Regions from separate parts of the Homo sapiens genome. Here region 2 is linked to region 1. The links are contacts of gene promoters, found by promoter capture Hi-C in blood cells and fetal thymus (Javierre and others, 2016). All regions are on one chromosome and are shown on one strand. Each heading gives the region's core, a stretch centred on a gene start or on the middle of the fragment in contact. The rest is flanking DNA. Distances are from core to core; before and after follow the strand shown. Region 1 holds the start of PTPN2 (protein tyrosine phosphatase non-receptor type 2). Region 2 overlaps LDLRAD4 (low density lipoprotein receptor class A domain containing 4).

Evidence for each region. The method cuts DNA at HindIII sites, captures the fragments that hold promoters and counts their contacts. A CHiCAGO score of 5 or more calls a contact.
Region 2: a contact is called between a fragment that was not itself captured here and the fragment with the promoter of PTPN2 in region 1, in 1 of 17 cell types (fetal thymus). The highest score is 5.8, in fetal thymus.

What each region holds. Positions count from the first base shown.
Region 1 is chr18:12,882,042-12,886,036 of GRCh38, reverse strand. PTPN2 (protein tyrosine phosphatase non-receptor type 2) reads left to right here and starts at 1,800. Exons shown (of 9, transcript NM_002828.4): 1 at 1,800-1,964. The coding sequence starts at 1,896. RefSeq lists silencers at 179-228, 1,588-1,877, 2,258-2,597. The HindIII fragment of the contact is 3,601 bases long and covers 714-3,995 here.
Region 2 is chr18:13,629,482-13,633,257 of GRCh38, reverse strand. The region is part of intron 5 of LDLRAD4 (low density lipoprotein receptor class A domain containing 4); the gene reads right to left. Among named protein-coding and RNA genes, the nearest start is that of MIR4526, 20 kb to the right of the region's middle. The HindIII fragment of the contact is 3,355 bases long and covers 721-3,776 here.

The DNA of each region.
Region 1 (3,995 bases), core at 551-3,050:
CAAAAGGGGCAAAAGTCTACATTTGGGGTCCTTTAGAAACAGCAAGCTAGGAACTAGTTGGGTTGGGAGTCACATATGTCGGAGAGACCAAGTCATATCTTGTCAGCAGGATATCTCGAAGCAAGTTAACCTCTGTTTTCTTTTTACCCCCGGGCTTCAGTGCAGCCCTGTATAGGTATTCTTCTGGAGCAATCATTCTCAAACTCTGGGGGGGCACAGGCATCCCCAGGAGAGCTTGCTTAAGTAGTCTCCTGGGGCCCCAACACCAGAGATTCTGATTCAGTAGTTTGGGGTGAGGCCTTCAAATTTGCATTTCAAAGAAGCTCACACTGGATGCAAATGATGCTGGTGTGAGAACCACTGTTCTAGATTCTTCGCTGCACTCAGCAAACTAAGATAGGCAAATACAGCTCCCGGAACCAGAGAGGCTGACAAATGAATTCCAAAGAGATGCTGAATACTTGGCGATAAGAACTGCTGCTTTGAGATAAAGATGCTCCTCCTTTGTAGAACACAGTATTTTTTGGTTGGAAAGCAATCTGATGAGCAGACTAATGCGAACATTCACAGGATATTCTGGGAGATACCATGCCTTTAATCAAAATAATCAGATTCAATGACAGAATTTCAGAACCAAGGACCATTAGACATTGTGGGGTCTTTCGGGGGAAGCTTTCCTGTATCTCTAAATCATACTATGTAAGTAGAAAGCTTGCTGACTGCTTTTTTGTTAATACGATTTCTTCTAGCTTCCGTAGCCAACTTTTTTTTTTTTTTTTCTGGCTAGGGTTTTCATTATTTTATGTGATTAAGGACACTTTTCTGCCCCAAGTATTGTAATCCTCTCGGCCGGCTCTGTCCAAAAGAACTGTCTTCGATGATAGAAACGTTCTACATATGTACTTTGCCACATAGCAGCCACTAGCCATACATGGTTATGGCACACCTGAAATGTGGCTGGTGCCACTGAGGAATTAAGTTAATATTTAAAATTTAAATCCCAATACTGGACAGCACGGCTAAACCTTTCCTAACCCTTCACGTTTCTTATGAAGATTATATAGCAGGATATTACAAGCACTAAAAAAGAACTATCTTAAATCTGAAGCAAGATGATTTCCCTAACTAGTACGTTTGTTTGGTAAAAGAGGACGTGCTATTTTTTACAGTTAAATCTAATTCGTAAGTTGTAGAACGTTTTCTTAACAAGGTATCCCTCTCCCAAATTCCGGGAGAGGCTGGCTGCCTTTCCTTTTGCTCCAGCGGTTTATTTGGCATAAAATCTGCAGGCTTACAGGAGCTGACACCAGGGCAGAAAAGAATGAGGAATTTGTTTCCAAGTTGGTCACAGGCCGCTAATCTGACCTAGATGATGTTTAAAATAATATTCAAATACAGCACTTTAAAAAACTATGAAGGCTGAGAAGAAAACGAGAAATGGGAAGCAAGAAGGAAGGCGGAGCGTGCCGGCGACTTCTCAGGGGACTTCCTCAGGGAGTCCCATTCCAGTAACCCCGCGCTACCCACGGACCACCGCCTCTCTCTTGTCGGAAGACGCAAGCCCAAGGGGCGGCTCACCTCGTGCCGCGCGCAGGGACCACGGCCGCCGGGTGGTCCCCTGGCCCCGCCCCCTCCCACCTGGGCACCCCGAGCCCCGCCCCCCGAGCGCCCCGCCCCGCCCCGCCGCCGACTTCGCGCCGCGCTCGGGCGCCGAGTCTGCGCGCTGACGTCCGACGCTCCAGGTACTTTCCCCACGGCCGACAGGGCTTGGCGTGGGGGCGGGGCGCGGCGCGCAGCGCGCATGCGCCGCAGCGCCAGCGCTCTCCCCGGATCGTGCGGGGCCTGAGCCTCTCCGCCGGCGCAGGCTCTGCTCGCGCCAGCTCGCTCCCGCAGCCATGCCCACCACCATCGAGCGGGAGTTCGAAGAGTTGGATACTCAGCGTCGCTGGCAGCCGCTGTACTTGGTGAGTCGCGGACCCACGCGGCAGTCGCCGACCTCCTCCGAGACCCGGACTCGTGCCCTGTCCGCAGGGTCCCTCCCGCCTCCCCCGCCTCTCGCCTCTAGCCTCTCGCTCGGGGCGGAAGTGGCGGCGCGGTCCGCGTCAGGGGCGCGCCTGCGCTGACCGCTCTCTTGCTCCTTTTGGTTTAAAAAAAAAAAAAAAAAAAGCATACTTGAGCTGAGCAGCTCATGGTTAGCGCAAGCGCAGTTAGTTCTGGAGGGCGGTGCCACAGCGGCTTCTTGGGGAGCGCGTGGATGCGCCACCAGCGTTGCGCGGCCCGGGTCTGGGGGTCCTTGGGAAAGCCGTGGGGGCGCTCGGGCGCGCGCCCCCGGGCCGCAGCTTCGCCGTAGCTCCCACGCCGCTGTGCTTGGTTCTTGCTCGCGGACAGCTCTTTCTCTGGCCGGGTGTTTTGTGGCCGGGTGGGCAGCTGGCGTCCCCGGGAGCGGTGAGGGCGGGGGCGGGCGAGCCGGGCCGCGGCGTCCGGGTCCAGCTGGCGCCCGCGCAGGACCTGTGGGAGCAGGCCGCTCTGGGCGCCGGGCCGGCCGCCGCAGCCCTCTGCGAGGCGAAGCTCGCTCTCCTGGCGGAGCCGCGGTGGTTGGGGGTGGCTCGTGGCCTCTGGCGAGGGCAGCGCTCTCGGGACCCTCCGTCTTCATTTTCCCCCGTGGCCCAGCAGCGCCCAGCGTGGGTTCGGCCCCCATAGAACCTTCCCGGAACGAAAGAGGCTTTGCTTGTGTTCGTCCAGTGATAGCGTGTCATTCTCTTTATAGTTTTCCTTACTGAGGTATACTTTCCCTACAGTGAAACGCAGCTTTCATGTGTGCTCCCAGACGGGTGTCACAAATGAATCCCCTCTTGCAAGCCCCCTCAAATCAAAATAGCCTTTCCTTGCCCTGAGAAAGTGCCCTCATCCCCTCCCCGGGGGCACGGTGTTCCGATGCCTATCGCCCTAATCGTGCCTGTTCAGCTCACATAGATGCAATATGTAGTATAAACACCTGTGATTCGCTTTTTTTATGTCAACTAGACTACCTTTTAATTCAAACAAAACTTTATCTCTTTTAAAATGATGTAACTGCTTTCCCCTTCGTTTAATCCTTGTCGTATTATTCCCAAGATTGAATTTGGTGACGGTTAAGTTAATGCTGCTTCTGATGTTTGGTTCTCTCTGTGTAAAGTAAAAGACGGGCTTTCCTGTAAATGGATGATCCTGGGTTTTTCCCCTTTCCATTTAATTAGATGGCAGTGAAAAATGTGTTCAGAAAGTAACGTTTTCTTCTTGAACACATTAGTGGGAAGTATAAATATTCTGATTCCCATGATACAGAGTATGTTAGAATAGGGATCTAAGTTTTAAAGAATGCTGGTAAGGACTCTTCCAATTATAGACAATCTGAAACGCAAATTCTGGTAGGAATCTTCATGTGAGAGAGCCTGCCAGCTGCATCTTCTCCAGTTACATTTGTTTTAGCAGAGGCTGCTGTCTCTCTAAGGGATAGGTTATATATCGAAATAGATTTGAAAAGAGAAAAGTGAATATAACTTAATTCAGCTTAACATTTTGGTTTAAGAAATTTAATTTTCTTTGGTATCATTAATATCCTTGAAAATTCAATGAGAATTGTGATTCCTCTTTCCAGAAAAATGAACTTAACTCGCATCCACTGGAGATTTCACATGCATTTTCAAAAAGATAAGGAAATCCTTCTATAGATTCTTACCGAGGAATCCTGTAGTTTCCTTGGTTGGTCAATGCTCATATTATTTTTTCCTAGTTGAAAACAAGACCATTAGTTTGGTCAGTAGAAACCATGGCATGCACACTGGTGTTACAGTAAAAGTAGGTCACAAACCAAGAAAGTTAGTAATGGAAAGCAAGTCAGGAAGTTTGAGCTATGTGTTCTCCTGTGGCCTTAGAACATCCATTCAGCCATTCCACAAATATGCCCGGACCCCCAGTGGAGTTGCAGCTTTTGCTCCTGGCCTTGGGGATTCAGC
Region 2 (3,776 bases), core at 1,149-3,648, 750 kb before region 1:
TGGACCAATCAGCATGCACTTCCTCCCTTTTGAGCTCATTAAAAATCCTGGATTCAGTTTGACTTGAACAGACATCGGATCAACCTGCCTGTGGATAGGAGCTACTCACTGCAGGTCTCCTCTCCACTGACGGCTAGACACTTATTGGCATGACCTGCCTGAGGAAAGGAGCTACCCATTGACAGACAGACATTGGGATGACCTGTCTGGGGAAAGGAGCTACCCTCTATGGGTCTCCTCTCTGCTCTGAGCTGGACAGACGTCAGGATGACCTGCCTACAGAAAGGAGCTACCCATTGACAGACAGACATTGGGATGACCTGTCTGGGGAAAGGAGCTACCCACTGTGGGTCTCCTCTCTGATCTGAGCTGGACAGACAGACATCAGGATGACCTGCCTACAGAAAGGAGCTATCCAGTCTGGGTCTCCTGAGAGCTGTTCTGTTGCTCAATGAAGCTTCTCTCCAACTTCTCACCCACCAGTTGTCCATGTACCTCATTCTTCTTGGATGTGGGACAAGAACTTGTGACTGGCCGAATGGTGGGACTAAAAGAGCTGTAACATAAACAGGGCTGAAACATGCCCCTCCACTCACCACACTGTGGGGGACAAGAAGGAAAGAAGAGCTGTGACCCTTAGGGCAGCCCAGACCTAGGGTTCTCCTGGCCAGGGCTGTGACACCATCTTTGGGACTCTGCAGTTCCTGGTGTCTCCAAGCTTCCGGGTACCATCACATTCCCCTCATCCAGACGCAAGTGCCTGCAGTGGATGCTGCATGCAGTGTATCTGGTCCAGCTGCAGCCTTGCACAGAGCAAGCACCTGTGCCAGTACCTGGAGCTGCCTGCCCTGCTGCAGCAACCAGCGCACCTGGCTGTGCACAGTGGCTGGACCTTGCACTCACTTGCTCACACACCCCTCACCATTCTGTGCCTGGCTTGCCCTTGGCAGGTGTGGGATCTGGGCCAGTAACGTGAGCTGAGCGCAGCCTGCCAGGGGAAGTGGGCAGGATGAGCCCAGTGGGCATGAGCAATACTCAGGCAGAAGGCACCACCAGCCACAAAGGTTTCTGACTGGCGAAGTGACACCCTAAGGATCCTGTGACAATACTATTTCTGCATCAACTGAGATGATTGTGGGACAAGAACTTGGGACCTGCTGAATGAAGTTTGGGACCCCCAACTTCATTCTGTTAATGTAGTGTATGACACTGACTGAATTTCATGTATGGAACCATCCTTGCCTTCTGGGAATAAATCCCCCACTTGTTGATGATGTATAATCCTTTTACTTTTTTAAATTTAATTTTTATTTAGTATTATTATTATTTTTGAGACAGAGTCTCGCTCTGTCTTCCAGGCTGGAGTACAGTGGCACGATCTCAGGTCACTGCAACCTCCGCCTCCCGGGGTCAAGTGATTCTCCTGCCTCAGCCTCCCGAGTAGTTGGGATTGCAGGTGCGTGCCCCCATGCCTGGTTAATTTTCGTATTTTTAGTAGTGACAGGTTTCACCATGTTGGCCAGGCTGGTCTCGAACTCCTGACCTCAAGTAATCTGCCTCCCTTAGCCTCCCAAAGTGCTGGGATTACAGGTGTGAGTCACTGTGCGCAGCCAGTATAACCCTTTTAATATACTGCTGAATTTAGTTTGCTAGTATTTTGTTGAGGACTTTTGCATCAATATTTATAAGAAATATTAGTCTATGGTTATCTTTTTCTGCTGTGTCTTTGTCTGGCTTTGGTATCAGGAATGCTGGCCTCATCTCATAATGAGTTAGGAAGTGTTCCCACCTCTTGAAATTTCTAGAAGTTTAAGAAGGATTGATGTCAATTCTTTAAATGTTTGGTAGAATTCACCACTGAAGCCATGTGGTCCAGGTTGGAGATTTTAGACCATTGGTTCAATCTCCTTACTAGCTATAGATCTATTAAGATTTTCTATTTCTTCATGATTCAGTCTTGGTAGGCTGTTTCTAATATCTTTTCATTTCATCTAGGTTATCCAATTGGTTTGCATACAATTGTTCGTAGCACTATTTTATAATCCTTTTCATTTCTGTATTTATTGGATCATTTTTCTTCCAACCAGTACATCTCATATTATTAAAGGACAGTCGTCTGCAGCCATGACTTACTGAGGGTTCCCTTGTGCTGCACCATGGGCTGTCGCCTGCTGCCATGCGTCCACGTGTGCAAGGCCACACCACGCCCGAACCCTGCTGGGCTTATGCTCTCAGCTACACTCTCCTTTCCACACACACACAGAGGACCCCAGGAATGATCAGATGTGGGGACTGGAAACAACCAGGGAGAGCACTGAACACAGTGTTTTCCACCATGTGCTTTGCAGCCTCTTAGAGAGCTGGAAAATCCATTTAAGTGGGTCACAGCCAGCATTCCAAAAACTGAAACAGAACAGAAATGATCTGAGCACACTGTAAGTATTGTTTTGTAAAACCTCTGCCTTAATTGCATTATAGGAGGCTTTTGTGTTGTGATATAAAATGTATTTCTTACTGTTCTTCATGGCAAGATACAGATTGAAGGCCTCCGAATGAAGCCAGTTATCCCTCATTTTAGATGGGGGGAAACTGAGGACAGAGGGCATATTCCTCTCTAGGCACCTCGGTCAGTCTGCGGTAAAGCAAGACTACTGCTGGGTATTCTGATTCTACCCAAGGGCTAACCTCCCAGTGAATGAATGTATTTTATGGCCTCAAATAGTTGGAAATCTATTTTTCCCCTGTTCCACAGTGAGAATTTCAAAGAAGAGGTGAAATTGATCTTTGGATATTCAGCAACACCTTTGCCTTCTGATAAAATCAATTTTCCCTGTTTTCTCCCTTTTTTCATGCAGCCTCTCCACCATCCTGATATTTTATCACTACCGTCCTTTCCACTCTAGATGGCAGTCACAGCCTGGATGTGAGGCCAGTACCCCTGGCTGTCAGAGACTGCACCTCCCCCTTTCTTCCTCCTGGGGAATCCATCATCAGACTTCTCAGATTCAAGATCCCCCAACTCTGCTCAATCTAGGGCACGTCCCTTAAGAGAAAAGACAAATCATCTAGGAAGGTCTGCTGGAAGAAAAGGAAGGGAATCCTTTCTATTTCTGGGACAATGCAATGGGCTAGCGGGGAAAAGCAATATGAGGTGCCTCTCCCAGCTTGGTGCTGGGGTTAGTGAGCAATCGGACTTCAAGAGGAATCAGCCTGGGAATGAGAAAGTTCCAGGCAGCAGGAAAATGTGGAACCACACAAGATCCAGGCAGGCATCATCCTGATTTCAGCACCAGTTGCCTCGTCTCACATGTGAGAAGAAGTCAGAGCTCAGAGGGGATTTTCTGTGACCTTCACCCAAGGTCACAGAGCTGCTGGGGCTTTGCCAAGAGCCAGACCCCAGCCTGGTGAGCCTCCCCAACAGGGGCCACCCAGAGTTATGATCATTAAGATAATTTTTAATCTTCTTCTCTTTTTTTTTTTCAGAACAAACCACACCAACTTTCAAGGACTAAGCAAAAAATAAACCAACAGATTTTACTATTAGATTATTAATGCTAATACCTTATATATTTAAAAGATTACTATAAATTTGTTGATAAAAATGTTCATACATTTTATTTAAAATTATTATTTTAGCCACCATAGAAACCATGTTCAAATGAATTACTCTGGGAGTCTATAGATGCCCAGAACATTACTGCCTTTAGCATCAGTTTACATGATCAGAGGATGTTTTGTAATTGCAAAGGTAATACATGAATACATTCTTACCATAA